6 separate regions of the Homo sapiens genome follow, and regions 1, 2, 3, 5 and 6 are each linked to region 4. The links are contacts of gene promoters, found by promoter capture Hi-C in blood cells and fetal thymus (Javierre and others, 2016). All regions are on one chromosome and are shown on one strand. Each heading gives the region's core, a stretch centred on a gene start or on the middle of the fragment in contact. The rest is flanking DNA. Distances are from core to core; before and after follow the strand shown.

What was found. The method cuts DNA at HindIII sites, captures the fragments that hold promoters and counts their contacts. A CHiCAGO score of 5 or more calls a contact.
Region 1: a fragment that was not itself captured here is called in contact with the fragment with the promoter of KIF26B in region 4 in 3 of 17 cell types (naive B cells, total B cells and total CD4 T cells); the score reaches 6.1 in naive B cells.
Region 2: a fragment that was not itself captured here is called in contact with the fragment with the promoter of KIF26B in region 4 in 1 of 17 cell types (M2 macrophages); the score reaches 5.9 in M2 macrophages.
Region 3: a contact is called between a fragment that was not itself captured here and the fragment with the promoter of KIF26B in region 4, in 6 of 17 cell types (endothelial precursors, total CD8 T cells, naive CD4 T cells and 3 more). The highest score is 9.0, in endothelial precursors.
Region 5: a fragment that was not itself captured here is called in contact with the fragment with the promoter of KIF26B in region 4 in 1 of 17 cell types (naive B cells); the score reaches 5.2 in naive B cells.
Region 6: a fragment that was not itself captured here is called in contact with the fragment with the promoter of KIF26B in region 4 in 1 of 17 cell types (endothelial precursors); the score reaches 6.0 in endothelial precursors.

The regions. Positions count from the first base shown.
Region 1 is chr1:246,026,825-246,029,800 of GRCh38, forward strand. All of the region lies in intron 5 of SMYD3 (SET and MYND domain containing 3), which reads right to left. Among named protein-coding and RNA genes, the nearest start is that of SMYD3-AS1, 80 kb to the right of the region's middle. The HindIII fragment of the contact is 5,377 bases long and covers 1-2,976 here.
Region 2 is chr1:245,795,235-245,798,109 of GRCh38, forward strand. The region is part of intron 10 of SMYD3 (SET and MYND domain containing 3); the gene reads right to left. Among named protein-coding and RNA genes, the nearest start is that of SMYD3-AS1, 310 kb to the right of the region's middle. The HindIII fragment of the contact is 2,658 bases long and covers 40-2,697 here.
Region 3 is chr1:245,888,877-245,892,182 of GRCh38, forward strand. The region is part of intron 8 of SMYD3 (SET and MYND domain containing 3); the gene reads right to left. Among named protein-coding and RNA genes, the nearest start is that of SMYD3-AS1, 220 kb to the right of the region's middle. The HindIII fragment of the contact is 554 bases long and covers 1,374-1,927 here.
Region 4 is chr1:245,153,385-245,156,587 of GRCh38, forward strand. KIF26B (kinesin family member 26B) reads left to right here and starts at 1,601. Exons shown (of 15, transcript NM_018012.4): 1 at 1,601-2,103; 2 at 2,898-3,203. The coding sequence starts at 2,041. RefSeq lists enhancers at 1-412, 413-1,088 and silencers at 943-1,142, 3,010-3,203. The HindIII fragment of the contact is 4,692 bases long and covers 1-3,203 here.
Region 5 is chr1:246,095,818-246,098,783 of GRCh38, forward strand. All of the region lies in intron 5 of SMYD3 (SET and MYND domain containing 3), which reads right to left. Among named protein-coding and RNA genes, the nearest start is that of SMYD3-AS1, 11 kb to the right of the region's middle. The HindIII fragment of the contact is 3,993 bases long and covers 1-2,966 here.
Region 6 is chr1:245,872,036-245,875,068 of GRCh38, forward strand. The region is part of intron 8 of SMYD3 (SET and MYND domain containing 3); the gene reads right to left. Among named protein-coding and RNA genes, the nearest start is that of SMYD3-AS1, 240 kb to the right of the region's middle. The HindIII fragment of the contact is 1,305 bases long and covers 961-2,265 here.

The sequences.
Region 1 (2,976 bases), core at 281-2,780, 870 kb after region 4:
ATCTCTCGCTGTGATTCAAGAGCTAGAAATGATGAAGCTCAGTGAGGAAGACATGTCGAGAACTAAGATAAACTGAAAGACACATGTGTTGCACAAAACAGTTAGCCAACTTGTAAATGCAAAAGAAACACTCTTGAGGGAAATTAAAAGTGCTACTCCAGTGAACACACAAATAATCAGAAAGTGAGACAGCCTTATTGCTGATAGGGAGAAAGTCTGAGTGATCTGGACAGAAGATCAAATAAGCCACAATATTCCCTTAAGCCAAAGCCTAATCCAGAGGAAAGCCCTAACTTGCTTAAATTCTATAAAGGCTGAGAGAGGTGAGAAACGACAGAAGAAACGGTGGAAAGTAGCAGAGGTTGGTTCATGAGGTTTAAGGAAAGAAGCCATCTCCGTAACTTAAAACTGCAAGGTGACGTTGCAGCAAGTTATCAAGAAGATCTAGCTGAGATGACTGATGAGGGTGGCAACAAGGAAAAGCAGACTTTCAGTGTAGATGAAACCGCCTTATATTGGGATGAGATACCATCTAAGACTTCCATAACTAGAGGAGAGGTCAATGCTTTGCTTCAAAACTTCAAAAGACAGAATGACTCTCTTGTTAGGGTCTAATGCCAGCTGGTGACTTTAAGTTGAAGCAAATGTTCATTTACCATTTAAAAAATCCTACAGCCCTTAAGAACTGTGGTAAATCTGTACTGCCCATGTTCTACCAATGTAATAACAAAGCCTGGGTGACAGCATATCTGTTTTTAAGCATAGTTTACTGAATATCTGAAGTCCATTCTTGTGACCTACTGCTCAGGAATAAGATTGCTTTGAAAACATTACTGTTGATTGACAACGCACCTAGTCATCCAAGAGCTCCGATGGAGATGTACAAGAAGACGAATGCTGTTTTCTTGCCTACTAACACAAAATCTAGTCTTCAGCCCATGGATCAAGGAGTAATTCAACTTTCAAGTCTTATTATTTAAGAAATACATTTTGTAAGGCTATAGCTGCCATCAATATTGATTCTTCTGATGGATCTGGGGACAGTAAATTGAAAACCTTCTGGAAAGGATTCACTATTCCAGACACCATTAGGAACACTCATACTTCATAGAAGGAGATCAAAATATCAACATTAACAAGAGTTTGGAAGGTTGATTCCAATCCTCATGGATGACTTTGAGGGGGTCAAATCTTCAGTGAAGAAAGTAATCAGAAATGAAAAACAAGGCATTACAACTGATACCACAGAAATACAAAGGATCATTAGAGACTGTTACGAACAACAATCTTGACAATGCTGACAAACTGAAAAACCTAAAGGAAATAAATCCTAGACATACACAACCTACCAAAATTGAATTAGGAAGAAGGAGAAAACCTGAAAAAATCAATAATGAGTAGTGGAAGTCCTAGTCAGAGCAACCAGGCAAGAGAAAGAAACAAAGGGCATCCAAATTGGAAAAAAGGAAGTCAAATTGTCCCTCTTTGTGAATGACATAATCCTATATACAGAAAAATCTAAAGACTCCACCAAAAAACTCTTTGAACTGATAAATGAATTCAGTAAAGTTGCAAGATACAAAATCAATATACAAAACTATACATCAATAACGAAGTAGTGAAAAAAGAAATTAGAAAAGCAATTCCACTTACAACAGCTACAAAAACATAAATAAAGTATCTAACAATAAATTTATTGAAGGAGGAGAGAGAACTCTAGAAGGACAACTATGAAACACTGATGGTAGAAACTGAAGAGAATACAAACAAATGGAGATGTCCCATGCTTATAAATTGGAAGAATTAATATTGTTAAGATGACCATGCTACCCAAAGCAATCTACAGATGTAATGTAATACCTGTCAAAATACCAAACCACATGTTTCACAGAAATATTTTTTTAAATCCTAAAATTTGTATGGAAACACAAAAGACCATGAATAGCCAAAGCAATAATGAGCAAAAATAACAAAACAGGAAGTATCACACTACCTGACTTCAAAATATGCTACAAAGCTATAGGAACCAAAACCATATGGTACTGGTATAAAAACAAACACACAAACCATTAGCATAGAATAGAGAACCTAGAGATAAATTCACATATTTACAGCCAACCAATTGTAAAATGTGTCAAGAAAACAGACTGAGGAAAAGACACCCTGTTCAATAAATGGTGTTGGGAAGATTCCATATCCAAAGCAGAAGAGTGAAAGGAGACCATTATCACTGTATACAAAAGTAAACTCAAAATGAATTAAAGATTTGAACATAGGACCCAAAACTATAAAACTACTAGAAGAAAACACTTCAGGACATTGGTCTAGGCAAATATTTTATGGCTAAGACCTCAAAAGTACAGCCAACAAAAATAGACAAATGGCACTATATTAAACTAAAAGGTTTCTGTACAGCAAAGAAAACAATCAAGAGACTGAAGAGACAATCTGTAGCAATAAATATTTGCAAATTACATGTTCAGCAAGGAATTAATATCCAAAATATAATCCAGTTAAAAAGTGGGCAAATGATATGAATAGAAATGTCTCAAAAGAAAATATGCAGGCCAGGCACGGTGGCTCATGCCTGTAATCCCAGCACCTTGGGAGACAGAGGCGGGCAGATCACCTGAGGTCAGGAGTTCAGACCAGCCTGGCCAAAATGGTGAAACCCCATCTCTACTAAAAATACAAAAAATTAGCCAGGCGTGGTGACACACGCCTGTAATCCCAGCTACCCAGGAGGCTGAAGCAGGAGAATTGCTTGAGCCCGGGAGACAGAGGTTGCAGTGAGCCAAGATCCTACCACTGCACTCCAGCCTGGCTGACAGAGTGAGACTCTGTCTCAGAAAAAAAAAAAAAAAAAGAAAGAAAAAGAAAAAGAAAATATGCAAATGGCCAGCAAATATATGAAAAAATGTTCAACATCACTAATCACCAGGGAAATACGAATCAAAACCACAATGAAATATCATC
Region 2 (2,875 bases), core at 119-2,618, 640 kb after region 4:
GATCCTGTGTCTGGGATCTTATACCTCCATAGACTCACAAGCTTCATGTCGACCATCATTCCAGGCATAGGTCAGCAGTTACTTTTATCAGCCTCCCATCATAGTGAGGATGTCCTCTCTCATTTATCAACATCCCCGGTTTTCAGTAGTGAGCCTGACTCCACTTCCCATTTCACAGAGTACATATCTAGTCCCTGTTACATTCCAGGAGCCAAATTCCCAGCCATTTTGCCTCCTTTATCCGAGAGCCAGGTAGCCAGTGGCTTCAGCTCCATCACTTCTTTGCATTTCTCTTCTTTTTCAGATTCACTCGCTTTGAGCCTAGCTATATCTTTTTAATTTCCCATTGTTATATTTTGTCTCTTGTGGCCTAAAGCATGATCTAACCATGCCAGCTCACCAAGGAGTTCCCTGACTTTCTCTACAACCTCACCTCATGCCACGGGCCCATGCGCTCCAGTCACCTCCTTTGCTATCTCTTCAGTTCTCTGGTCAATCAAGATTTCTCCCACCTCAAGACCAGACACATGCATGAAGAGAAAGAGCCAAGCACTGAACGCTCTTGTCCCCTCTCTCCCTAAATACTATTCTCGGCCTTTTAATTTCAGCTTAAATACAGTCTCTCTCCCTAAATACTATTCTCAGCCTTTTAATTTCAGCTTAAATACAGTCTCAGAAGGCACTTTTCTGATCACTCTATCTTAGTAACCCTATCTCCCAATTGTTTATTAATTGGATCCAGTTAGTTGTCTTCAGAGCAAAGTTGCAAACAGTCACAAGATCGCCCAAACCACAGCTTACAGGCCACACTTCTTTTTGGTAAGATGTACCTACACCACTAACATTGACAGTGGTGCTGCCTACAAATATAAAGGTCAAGGATATGTACAGGTATGGCCCAATGTGAAAGACAGCAGACTTCTTGGGTTGGGAAGTCTGAGTTTCTTTTCAGGACTCAGATGATGAAATTACCTGGAACTTAAGGTATTATGTCCAATAATCAAATAGTCTCTTGTTTCAATATTTTATCAAAAATAAAATATAATAAAACCTTATTGGGACGAATTGGGATGATGAAACATCCAAATTAATGGAGATTTGGAATTCTAGATTTTTTTTTTAATAAAATGGAGACTGATTTCTTGTAACCCTGTACAACAGCACAGAGTAATGGTTTACAGGACACTGCCAAATAGAGACCCTGCCAGGACCTACTTTAATGAACAGTAAAGAACTGTCTATGATCAACTATCTTTTTAGCGGGGATAGCATGCTGTAAAGGCAGCATGAATGGGCTAGCATTTCCCCTATAATTTCCTACATATTTATGATTTTCACAGGAAACAATTTTTTTCCATCTACAGACACTGGAAATGTGAGTATCAGCTCTCTCTCTACAGTACCATAAATTCAAAATCAGTGAGGCCAGATCAATGAAATTTGATACGCACAAAACTCTTGCATATTCTCATGTGAGTGTGGAGGAGAGCAGAGTGTCATCAAGACTCCACTCCACAGCCATAGTCTCCGCATCTGCAGTTAGCTCTTTTAGGACAGCTAGATCACTGCTCCATTCTATTAGCTCCAAACATACTGCAACCACCTGTTGAAGCTGGGAAGGCTCAGCATTTTTTTCTCTTTCTCCCACTGGCTCTGCAGAAAGCATCACAATTCCAATTAGTCTGTCAAAAACGAAAGGCCATGACTTAAGGTGCAAAACACCTATGAAATAATGAATTTGGAAGGACAGGAGGAGACATATCTGTACCGGTTAGTGTACTCAAGAATCAGGCTATAGAGGAAATTGCTTCTTTGGTAGTGTAAATACAAAGTTTTCAAGAATAGTTACTACAAGGCACTTTCTATTCAAGTACCAAATTGTGAGATACAGAATATGAGGGGATTTGGTGAATGTTTTCCTTTGAACAGGGCTTTACTTCAGGTCCATACCCAAAGGAATATCAATCATGCTGCTATAAAGACACATGCACACGTATGTTTATTGCAGCAGTACTCACAATAGCAAAGACTTGGAACCAACCCAAATGTCCAACAATGATAGACTGGATTAAGAAAATGTGGCATATATACACCATGGAATACTATGCAGCCACAAAAAAGGATATTTCATGTCCTTTGTAGGGACATGGATGAAGCTGGAAACCATCATTCTCAACAAACTATCACAAGGACAAAAAACCAAACACCACATGTTCTCACTGATAGGTGGGAACTGAACAATGAGAACGCTTGGACACAGGAAGGGGAACATCACACACTGGGGCCTGTGGTGGGGTGGGGGGAGGGGGTAGGATAGCATTAGGAGATATACCTAATGTAAATGACAAGTTAATGGGTGCAGCACACCAACATGGCACATGTATACATATGTAACAAACCTGCACGTTGTGCACATGTACCCTAGAACTTAAAGTATAATTATATATAGATAGATAGATAGATATAAAGAAAAGAAAAGAAAAGAAAAAGAAACGGCCAACTCTAAGGAGATTTCAGGTCCACTGCAGACGCCCCCTACTGGCCGGTTTTCAAAGCTATGCCAAGACATGTCCTCTCAATTGCTTCCGGGTTCCAAAAAAAAAAAAAAAAAAAAGGTGGATCAAGACACCAGCGAGGCTCATTGCTTGTGGTCTGCTTCTTATGTGTTCTAGGGAATTTTATTTTCAAAAGCTACAAAGCTTTTCACAATATGGGTTTGAGGATGCTCAGTACGTGAGAATTTTGGGTTGAGGTACAGAAACCAGATAAAGCCTTGTTCATTTGCTCATTCGGCATCAACGTCCAGTGTGTCCCAATGTAAATGAATCACTGTCTAGAAAGTAGAAACATTCTTATTTTTTTTTTTAAAATATGC
Region 3 (3,306 bases), core at 401-2,900, 740 kb after region 4:
AAGAGAAAGTGGAACCACATTTGGTCACCTACCATCCCTAATACACGGAGCTGCATTACATACTCCCTGTAGCTTACCAATGCCACCAATTCCCCAGCTTCATTCTTCCAAGGATGCAATGTCACTAGAGGGCGCAGTTAATGACTATATAAATAGTGAGCCCCAAGATAGTTATTGTGAAATTTAACCTCTTTCCATATCCCAACAGTGAGCTGTTAGTGGAACTTTGTGTGGCAGAGACCTATAGAACTCCAAAGTTAGGTAAGGTCAAACATGTCATGTTTTAAAGGCTTTGAGCATGTACTATGGACCAAAAGCATAAGCCTTCAAGTTCACTGTTGAGCCCGATTAACAGATAAGGGGAAAATGTACTTTTTGAGAAAAATAAATAGGTTATTTTTGCATGGCACCATGTTCTCTTAATTTCTATAGAGAGTGAGATAACAGAAGTGACTAGAATACCTTTTTCTCCTTCTAGGACATCCTTCCCATTGACACTGGAGGGGCCAACTACATGTTTTAATCAGAGCCCACAGCTGCCCACACCCACTGCAGAGTGAGCTACTCTCCACCAACCCTGCAGCCCTGAAGTTTCTGTGACCACTGAAGAGGTCTGTTTTCAGACTTAGGGTCAAAGTGTGGGTGACCTCCAACACCTACTGTAATGAAGGAATAAATGTCAATAGAAGCCTTGTCTGGTCTCTGTCCCAAGGCATTTTATTATTTGTTTCATTGTGAGATTCCAAATGTGGTCTTACTCAGAAAAGAACAATAATTCTTACATGGCAAATTCTGAAAGAGGCATCAATGCAATCCCTCTCAAAATACCAATGACATTCTTCACAGAAACAGAAAAACTAATCCCCAAATTTATATGGAACCACAAAAGGTCCAGAATAGCCAAAGCCATTCTGAGCAAAAAGAACAAAACTGAAGGAATCACATTACCTGACTTCAAATTATACTACAGAGCTATAGTAACCAAAACAGCATGGTACTGGCATAAAAACAGACACACAGACCAATGGAAAGAAATAGAGAATCCAGAATTAAATCCATACATCTGCAGTGAACTCATTTTTGACAAAGGTGCCAAGAACATACACTGGGGGAAGGATAGTCTTCAATAAATGGTGCCGGGAAAACTGGATGTGCAGAAGAATGAAACTAGATTTCTATCTCTCACTATATAAAACAATTAACCAAGATGGATTAACGACTTAAATTTAAGACCCTCAAACTACGAAACTACTAAAAGAAAACACTGGGGAAACTCTCCAGGACATTGGTGTGGGCAAAGATTTCTTGAGTAACATCCCAAAAGCACAGGCAACCAAAACAAAAATGGACAAATGGGATCACATCAAGTTAAAAGCTTCTACACAGCAAAGAAAACAATGAACAAAGTAAAGAGACAACCCACAGAATGGGTGAAAATATCTGCAAACTACCCATCTGACAAGGAATCAATAACTAGGATATATATAAGGACTTCAAACAACTGAATAAGGAAAAAAATCTAACAATCTAACAATCTGGGCAAAAGATCTAAATAAACATTTCTCAAAAGACGACATACAAATGGTGAACAGGTATAAGAACATCCCGCATCATCAAAGAAATGCAAATCAAAACTACAATGAGATATCATCTCACCACAGTTAAAATGGCTTTGATCCAAAAGATAGGGAGTAACATATGCTGACAAAGATGTGGAAAAAAAGGGAACCCTCGCACACTATTGTTGGGAATGTAAATTAGTACATCTACTATGGAAAACTGTATGAAGGGTCCTCGAAAAACTAAAATAGAACTACCATTGATCCAGCAATCTCACTGGTAGGTATATACGCAAATGAAAGGAAATCAGTATATCGAAGAGGTATCTGCACGCCCATGTTTATTGCACTACTATTCACAATAGCTAAGCTTTGGAAGCAACCTGAGTGTCTGTTGATAGATGAATAAAGAAAACATGGTACATATACACAATGGAGTACTAGTCAGCCATAAACAAGAATGAGATCCTATCACTTGCAACAGCAAGGATGGAATGGGAGGACATTGTGTTCAATTAAACTAGCCAGACACAGAAAGACCAACTTCACATGTTCTCACTAATTTGTAGGAGCTAAAAATTAAAAGAATTTAACTCATGGAGATAGAGAGTAGAATGATGGTTACCAGAGCCTGGGAAGGTAGTGGGCAAGGGAGGGAACGGGGGATGGTTAATGGGTACAAAAATATAATCAGATAGAATGAATAACATCTACTATTTGATACAACAGGGTGACCAGAGTCTACAATAATTTACTGTACATTTAAAAATTACTGAAGAAATATAATTGGAATATTTGTACCACAAAAGAAATGATAAATGCTTGAGGCAATGGATACCCCATTTATCCTAACATGATTATTACACATTGTATGACAGTATCAAAATATTTATCTCATGTACCCATAAATATACACGCCTACTCTGTAGCCATAAACATTCAAAATTTAAAAATACAAAAATAAATAATGTTTACAAAAGAGGATTGGTCTCTTGGGAAATAAACTGCAGAGACAGCCCAGGATGACATCCACTTTGTCCAGGAATCTGGGGGGAGGGGAGCAATGACCTGGATGTGACTCTGTGCAGTGCCACTCATGCTGTCTTCTTACTCAGCTGTACTTCCCTTCCTTCTGCTATGTACACCCCCTCAGTGACAGCAATGTCGGGAACTGTAGGGGTGAAGAGGACAGCACGAGTAGTGATGAAGGACAGTGATATGCCCCCTAAGTCTGGACAAAGGTCAGCTTACTTCTGGAAGGAGAGCCCAGGTTAGGAAGTGCAGGGGAGCAAGCCAGGAAGAATACAAGAATGAAAAACAAGCTGAGCTGAGCATGGTGGCTCACACCTGTAATCCCAACAGTTTGGGAGGCAGAGGCAGGAGGACTGCTTGATCCCAGAAGCTGAAGACTAGCCTGGGCAATACAGTGAGACTCCATCTCTACAAAAATATTTTTAAAAATTAGCAGGGCATGGTGGCACACGCCTGTAGCCCCAGCTACTGAGGAGGCTGACATGGGAGGATTGCCTGAGCCCAGGAGTGAGCCATGAACACACCACTGCACTTCAGCCTGGGCGAAAGAGTGACGCCCTGTCTCAAAACAGAAAAAAGAAAGAAAGAAAAACACCAACCACCCCAGCACAGTGACCACTGGAACCAAACCAAACAAGAGGCACTAGGCACAAAAAAAGGGGGAAGAAAGCAGAGACAACTAAAAATTGGAACAGGAGGAGTTAAAAAACTGTTA
Region 4 (3,203 bases), core at 351-2,850:
TTCGCGGCACCTACGCGAAATACAGATGCGGGTGGGAGCTGGCGCGTGCTGCCTGGAGGTGTACCTGCCCCCTAAGGTCCCCTATTGATAGGATCGCTTTTAAATTGGAAGTGGGAACGTAACGGAAACGTCCACTCTGTTCTTGCCATCTTCCTTTTGACCTTTTTACCTCGCTTTGGTGGCTGTGAAATATTCCCGCGCAGGAGCTGGAGCGGGGAGGAGTGGGGCAGAGCACGGGAGGCACAGAAGAAATTGTCCCCGAGGAAGGCAGAGTGGGGGCGTGGCCCCAGGCTTCCAGAACCCCGAACCTTTGTCTTCTTGCCCCCTCCTGCGTCGTCCACAGCTCAGAAGGAAGTCAGCGACCAGAAAGCCCTGAACGTCCTTCGCGCCCTCGCCCACCCCCGGGCTGGGTCTCCCCGCGGGCGCGGAGATGCCGTTACACCCCACGTGATCCCTGCGCCCGGCCAGTCCTTCCAGAGGCGTCTCGCGGGGTGTTAATTAAAGGTCACAACAAAACAGACCTGCTGGCTCACCAGAAGAAATGTCCTCCCGTGAAATGAAAAATGACACCCCAGAGCAGCCACGTGTGGAGCCTGGCATACGCCGGCTTCCTGCGCTCCTGGGCGCTGCGCCGGGGGACTGGGGCGGGGGGCGATCGGAGAGGGAGCGATGACGGGGTGCTCCGGAGACCCCGCGGGGCCCAGGCGCAGGAAGAAACGGGCGGCGGGGGGCGAGGGGCCCGATCCCACGCAAGGAGAGGCCAAGGCCAGCTCGCGCCACACCCCCTCTCCAGGCCAGAGTCGTCCGCGTGCAGCGCGGCGAAGCCCTCAGTTTCCCCTGCCCGGCAGCGGCCCGCTGGGTCACCAGGCTCACCTGTCCCAGCCCCGGGCGGCTTAGTCCATCACAGACCGGGGCTCGGGCGGGCGGGGGACCAAGGGCCCTAGTCCTGCGGCTGCGGTCGGGGAGGGTGGCCCCCCGGCCGGCCCGGGGTCGGTAGGGCAATTCCAGAAAAGGTTTGCCCGGCAGCTCTCCGAGAACAAAGGGCGGGGGGAGGACCCGGCATGTTTGTGGACTTGTTTGTGACTCAATCCCTTTTGCACGGCGTTTCACAGACAGACCTGCAAGCCTTGTCAGGAAGAGAAAGAACTTGGGGGCGGGGGAGGCTGGGGCACCGCATTTCCGTCCAGCCACGCTCGCTCGCGCGGCCCCCGGGCTCCAGGCTCGCGCAGCGGCGTTTCATTAGAGCCCCGGGCCCGGGCCGCGCGCCAGGAACTTCCCCGCACGCGGCGAGATCGACGATCCCCCGCCCCCAGCCCCAGCCCGGCTCCAGGCCTCGCAATGTCAGGCACGAGCGCCGCCACATAAAATGGATCCCGGCCGGCGCGGCGAGGGCGGCAGGTTCCCGAGGCTCCTCCGCGCTGCGCCCGGGCGCACACGCGCGCTGTGACCGCCGACCGCTCCCGGGCCACGCGGAGCCGCCCCTCTCCCGGCCCTCGCGCAACTGTCAGGCGAAACGGGCCGGCGGATATTGGCTCGGCGACACGCCGAGGCTCCTCCCCGAGTCTGGATCTTTATATTTTGGGAGAATTTCTTTGAACTCAGTTACCAAGCTCGGTGAAGGAGACAAGTTCCCACAGCTGACTCGGCTCGGCTCTCCCACCTTCCCGGCAGCGGCCGCGAGCCCTGATTGTATCCCTCGCTTTCCTCGTGGGGGAGCACGGACTGACTTGGCTGAAGAAAATGCCAGTTCTGTGGATGTGGCCGTGACAAGAGGACGTGCGGCTGGAAGAGGCAGAAGGGGACGAGGAAAAGCATGCTTTGAAGAGAAGAATAAACCAGCGACCCCAACCCTTTCTGCAAATTGGTGCTATTACTTGTGGGATCCATTTGCTTTCATTCCCTCCCACCCCACCGCTGAAGAAACCTTGCCCTGAGGGCTGAGAGCCAGCCCCCTGCAGCCGGGGGACGCTTCTGGGTTGGAGGACCTTCTGGATGTAGCGTCGGTGGAACCTTTAGATACTCTCCTCTGGAAAAGCCACCATGAATTCGGTAGCTGGGAATAAAGAGAGGCTTGCGGTCTCCACCAGGGGCAAGAAATACGGGGTAAGTTGTGACGGTACGACGCGGAGACGCGTTACCAGACCCATCTCGGCGGAGGTCCCCCTTTCCCCGGGATCGTGCGGCCCCGGCCCCGAGCTCTCCCCCGCTGCAGAGGCGCCCCCGGGGCTGGCGGGGTTGTGAGTGCGCGGAGGCGGGTCGGCCGCGGGGACGCCCGCACGCTCGCCTCGCTCTCGGAATTTTTTCAGCCCTCTCGTTCCTTCCTTTCCACGCACCCGTAACTTTTGCCGCATTCCTGCACTTCTAGGCAGAGTGAAGCCGAAGGGGAGGGTTTCCCATGAATGCTGGGCAGTACCTCGGATCGTTTAGCTGGAGCCGTGAGAGCCTCTCGTTTACCTGCAGGATCCGGAGAGTTGGACCCCGTATGAATAAAAATCCTGAAATCACAGCCCTCCCCCTACCCCCCCCATAGGGTCTTCCAGGATTTTGTTCCCGGGATCTTGCTGGGATAGGTGCCGGCTTCAAAAGCGTGGGGCGCTGAACCTATGGATCCCCCCCGCCTTGCAGAAGCCGTGGAAACGGCCCCGAGCGAGTCCCCTTCCTGACCCCAGGAGGAGGCCACCGGGGACCAGCGCAGGGGTCACCTGGGCGGTGGGGACTCACTTAAGGACAATTAACGAGACAGACGGAGGGCAATTTGGCCGCAGGGCTTGGAGAGGTCCCCAACCGACTCCCGTGGGCGGTTCGAGCGGGTACTTGGTGGCGCACGTATGACCCAGCTCCTGGGCGCTGCAGCCCGCCGCCTTGCAGCCCCTGACACCGGCGTGTCTTCCCCGCAGGTGAATGAAGTCTGCTCGCCCACCAAGCCCGCAGCGCCCTTCTCCCCGGAAAGCTGGTACCGGAAAGCATACGAGGAGTCGCGCGCCGGCAGCCGGCCCACTCCTGAGGGCGCGGGCTCAGCGCTCGGCTCCTCGGGGACCCCGTCTCCCGGCTCGGGCACCTCGTCCCCGAGCTCGTTCACCGGCTCCCCGGGACCCGCCTCCCCCGGCATCGGCACTAGTTCGCCGGGCTCCTTGGGCGGCTCTCCGGGCTTCGGCACAGGCTCCCCGGGCTCCGGCAGCGGCGGCGGCTCCTCCCCCGGCTCG
Region 5 (2,966 bases), core at 391-2,890, 940 kb after region 4:
GGGATCCGTGATTATGTCATTACACCCCAGCCTAAGCAACAGGCAAGACCCTGTGTCAAAAAAATACAAGAACAGTAAATAAAGGAGAAATGGCCTGAACATCAACTTCAACTCCTATTTTTCATAGAGCAGGGCCATTACTAAAACTCCCTTGAAATATCCATACAAAGACACCTTCTATCAAGCCATGATTATAGTATTTTCTTCAATATTTATTGGAAATTACATAAAATATTTCCCCCATGAACAGCACACGTGCAATTCTGTGAGAACAGAGTAAATAAAACCGATATATATCAAACAGTACCTTTTCTGCAGTTGAGAGGTAAGCAAAAGCATCCTCTGTTTAATAAACAAGAAAAAAATGTTAAGGAAGAATGTAGAATAGGTTGCCACCAAATATGCAAATGCATTCACGCTTAATACCTATTCTTAGCTGAAGTGTCTAGAGGTTGCTTTGTGTCTTGCGCATCAATCTCAGAGCAAGCAGAATAGATGATCTGAAATATTAATCCTAAACGGGTCTTGCCAGTGGGCAGCTGTGGGCTCGCAGAACCTCTGTGTAGACAGTCTCATTACCTACTTGTTCAGGCCTCTTTGCTGGCAAAAAGTATAGCTGAATAAACAGAAAGACAAGATCTGCAATGCCTCAGCGCTCAGAAAATTATGACGATGGGAAGAATGAAGCTCTGAGGTCAAAATCTTTTAAACAGCAATAATCTTTGCACTACATCAGACACCTGGCAATCTCAGTCCATTGTACTTATGGGAATGCTTTTTAGATGTTCTGATTAATACGGGTACTTGGGAGCCTAAACACAAAGACCTAACTAGAATACATTGCAATTCTGAGCCTCAGGCAATGTATATGAAAAAGATACCAGAACTAACTTTTGTTGAATAAAAGGATTCACGGTTCTTGCAAATGGTTATGATTGTAACAAATGTTTATCATTGTAACAAATGGTTATCATTGTAACTCTAATTCCAGTTACGTGACAACAAGTACAGTTTATGGGAAAAGACATGTGCAACAACCACCAAATGATCTGTCCATCTTACCAAAGACAATGAAATGATGAGTCCCTGCTAGTTTCTAGATATTATTTATCCAAGTTGTTGATTTGTAGGTGCTCATTCCATTTTCTCCTACATAATCCAGTAATCTATAATCCAGTAAGAAACTCACAACATAGACATGCAATTTACAGTTTCTGCATAGGGTCATTAAAAATTCTTTCATTACAAAGTATTTCTTGGATTCTTAAATATTTGGAAAATGCACAAAACACGTGAAAAATATAGTTGTTCAGACAAAGAAACGTCATTCTGATCTCATGTTTTCTCCCCAGGAACAGACTTCACAGCAATCCATTCCCTTTACATTTATTGTTTCCTTAACTTGCACCAAGCCTGAGGAGGTCAGTGCTTGGCACACATTAAGAAAACAATAAATAGGGAGGGGGTTACAAACTATGCTGATTCCCTGTTCTATGCCTCACTCTGGGTGAATTCAACCGTCTGAAGGGATAGCAAAGTCAGAAGTATGTGGCAAGCAGCAGGATGCCGAGATGGTTCCAGCTCAGACAAGGTTCCAGGAGAGAGAGCCTACCCATCTTTCCCAGGCCAAAATGTTTTCCATGTAATAAAGGTCACCAGTGGTTGCCAATATGCGTATACGAACTATATTGGCTTGGTCAGAGTTAGCTGGAAAAGCAAAAGCTCTGTAGTACTCCAGAGTTCTCAGATAGACCTGTCCAAAACCTCTCATTCCTTTGTTCCAACCTTTAATTTCCAACCCCCACAATCCCACCCCAGTTTCCAACCAGTACTTTCACCGAGAGGGCTGTACCACTGCCTGAGAAGTCACACAATACCTTCTGCTTCGTGACCAACTCAGACTTGGATATCTACCTGCTACCTATCATATCAATATGATGTAGAGGAGTGTCCGGGGCCCTAGACCTAAATCACTTTGTGTGGCACCTGCATCAGCCTTCCTTAGTGACAATCTTAAATCTAGTTGGTTTTCTTTGAGAATTTATTTCCTTCCCAAGTATATTTCTGTGATTAAAATTATGTGGTGTCAGAAGTTTAGTTTCAATTATATTTTACAGACACCCGTCTACATTAAATTTACCTTCTTGCTTTTCCACCATCCTTAGTTTTGTCGTAGTGTTTTTGTTGCAACCCTGTTCTTCCTTCCTGTGTCTAATTATTTAAAAATTACCACTAAACTGATTTTTATATTTTATTTCCATCAAGATAAACAAGATACAAATAGATGCCCTCAAAAAAGTTAATGATCAATTGGGTAAAACTATATCTATACCCGCACCCAAAAAGACAACATAATTCAATGCACACATGCAAATCAAGAACAAGAAAGATGATGGAATTAGCTCCAAAACTACTAACCTTCACATTAATCTGCCTCTTGCATGTCAATAGTTTATTTCAAATATTCGGTCCCTGTCAATCTAAGAAAGTCCTAAATCCAAAGCCCTGCGGGAATGACATGAGTTTCCTGGTGTCCAGCACACGTTCGAAATCCTGCTGTGTGAAGAGGGTTCAGAGAGGCCAAAAGGCACCATTCATGGACTTTAGGAGAAAATATTTTGTATTTTGTGCATTTAGAAAAAGGCTACAATTTGAATGTTTAAATATTTAAAGCCAATAAACAAGGAGCTATTATTTAATTTTTAAAAAATCTTTTTTCAAATTTCCCTGGAATATTTTATTTCATTTACAAAATAAATGTATGAAGATGACAAAATCTTAGAACTTTTTTGAGGCTGAGTGACACACTTTATCTATACTGTTCTAAATTTTACATTAACAAAATTATGTTCATCACTTAGAATGTGACATTGTATTTAGAAAGTCAGCTTCCCTTGTCCTATTAAAATGGTATTTAGATTGTAAGTATTTTATTATACTCAACTTTTCAAAAACATAATTATTAT
Region 6 (3,033 bases), core at 363-2,862, 720 kb after region 4:
CAAACCACACCAAACAGCCTCTGACATCCACAGGCACAATCCCTGTGCACTTCCCACTGGCTTTCATGATGCTTGCTCTACTGCCTGGCGGCAATGAGCGTAACTGTGATGCAGATGAAAAGCATGTCTTCCAGATGCTGTCATCAGCCCACAGGTGAAGTAAAATTGGCTTTAAAAGGTTATTTTTTCATCTATTTCATGAAATTGTGGGATCTCAGTGCCTTTAACAGATGTCCACAAGCAGGATGTAGCAGGGCTCTGAATTGTGAGTCCAAGCAGCTGCTTGCATCCTCGCAAGAGCCCAAAGTTCCCGCCTCCTGCTGCTTCACCCATCTCCTGAGCTGGCCGACCCCAGGATGGATGTCCTCTTCTCAGATGAGAGAGCCCAGAGTTCCTGCCGCCTTCTCCTTCACCGGCCTCCCTGAGCTGGCCGACCCCAGGATGGATGTCCTCTTCTCAGATGAGAGAGCCTTCTCCCGTCGGGCAGCCCCGTCACTCCCTTGGATCCAACTGAGGAGCACTTGGGCAACCAGGGGCTGTGAGCCCAATCCAAACAAAAATGCTCGTGGTGAGGAGAAGAAGTCATCAAACAGCTGAAGCCACTGGCAGCTCTGTTCCATTTCACTTTACATTCCCACCGTCGCTGCCAGCATTTGCCAAATGCCCATTTAGCTTTAGATCTCAGGCAGAAACAGGGCTCTCCTGCAACTACAAATTTCCACAAACCACACATTCAAACCAACTGCGATTTCAAGGTTCAATCTCCAGCTACACAGAATTGCCAGAAGGAAGGGGATATTCCCTTCATAGCTTCTGGGAAACGGAGCACAGCCTTGAAGGTATGAAGTCAGAACTTCTAGAACCACCAAAGGCCTTTTCCGGCTACAGCCTCAACACCTCCCCTCCCTCTGTGTGGGGTTGTTCCCATCCCAGTGAATAAAACTGCTTCTCAGAGAAATAAGCTTATTTGCTTATATAAAATCAAGTCAACCTGGAGAGAATAAAAACAGCATCTACACGTTGAGGGCAGTTTGAGAGCCTACCTCTTGTCAGTGGTGCTTGCTAAAAATGAGCCTTCTGTAGAAAAGCATTTTGTAGAAAACTAGCATGATGGGCTGATATACAAGGCAGTTAAACACACATGAATACATTTAGGAAGGAGACACTTGCTTGCACCCTCCCCCCATACTGGAAAGGTATGTTCCTGATGTAATAACATATAATGGGGATTAGATGACACAGAGGGCTATGAGCTCCACTTGCAAATGCACATTCAGACAAATTCTTTTCACATCTGTAGAGAGACTACCAAATGGATGGCTTAGGCTGCTGTAAGCCCATACTCACAACTCCTACCCAAGTCCTGCCAATACTGTTGTGTAAACGCTACCAGGTGGGAGGTTTGAGATTCTGGGAAAAATGCAAAGATTTTACAGGAAAATTGTTCTCCTGACAATAGCCATTAAGATAAAGTACACCTCCAAAGTTCAGGGTGAGTTTTGTCTTAATGAAGACCAAAGCTGCAGCCCTCATCTCCTTTAATCGGCCACATCTCCATCTTTTGTATTTTCTTCTTTGAGGACAGATGCTCTCATTCTCCTCTGCCAACAGAGATAAAAATGCTTTAAGCTGCCGCAGAACAGATTCAAGTGAGGTTTAAAGGGCAGTGTCCCGAAGGCGAAGGTTATAGGATAACCTAGATGTGGCCACTCCAGAGACATTCAGACATGGGATGAATGATAGCTTGATTTGGGTTCTGTGCTGTTGGCATGTAAGACTGTGTGACAGGCAGCACTACGGAAGTGGAACTAAGGAGGCCGGGCCCTGGTACCAGCTCTGCCACTGGCCAGCTGTGAGGCCTAGAGTCTAACAGTGCCTCCTGGCTCCGCTTGCCCAGGTGAGAACTACATTAGGGTTACCACTGACATGGAAACTAATCCTTCCACTCCATTAGTCGCCTATGTGTAAAGTATATGTTGTCCATGAAAACAGACCTGAAATTCTGATAGGAAGGTTGCTGGGGTTTGTGATTGTGCAACAAATTGTAAATGCCTTTGTTCTGATTTGTCCCTCCTTCATTCTATTTTAAACTGAGTTTTCTCAAGTATAAACAACCCCAGCCATAGCACAGAGAGTCTACAGGACTGAAGACAACACTCAACATGGTACTACCTTCTGCCAAACCAAGAATTTGACAATGGTTATTTAATTCACACATTCCCTCTAACATTTGTATGTATAATGATTATAACAGGCAATATTCCAAGCTTGGGTAAACATGGTATTTGCTTATCTGCTAAAGCGAGCACATCAGATTATCTAATCTGTGGTTCTGAATTAAAGGAATAGTTTAGCTGGGGTCCACAATGACAGCTTCACATAACAAGTCCCTGAGACACAAGTCTAGACATAGCTTTTTAGGAGGCAATCTTACGGGTCATCTAAAGAAATGATTTATTTTGACATTAGAACCTCTCTCTTAACATCAGTTAATGGAGGGTTCCATAGCGTCCCCTAAGTCTTCAGAGTTGGGCTGCAGAAATTATCCCGTTCTACAAACACTTCATAAGGCAGCACTGAAATCCTTAGACCATGTGTCACACAAGCCAAAAGTTCAAAAGAAACATGTCGCTGTTCGAGGGAAAGAAATTACTTTAATCTCTCAGCCTTTAAAAAAAAATTCTAGAATTGTATTTTGTATCTCACTGGAAAAAAAGCCAGTGTTCCTCCAATTATTCTAAAACAAAAAAAGAAAAGTCTGTAGTCTGTGAATCAATCCATACAGAGATCTGTCCCTTGAAGCTGGAGGGTGGGTCACCCCAGAGGGCAGTCACTTGGCCTAAAGGTCTGGTGAGGAGAACACTACTTTGTAAAGTTTGGGAGGAGAGAGGGGTGACCAGATTCCATGGTACAGCTCTTTTGTGCCTCACCTCGTATCCATGAGACAGACTACACAAAATCACCAGGACTTAGACGCTCCTGCAAGCAGCTCTGCAGCCATGGAAGTGAAGTGCTGGCTGACGGCACGGCGAG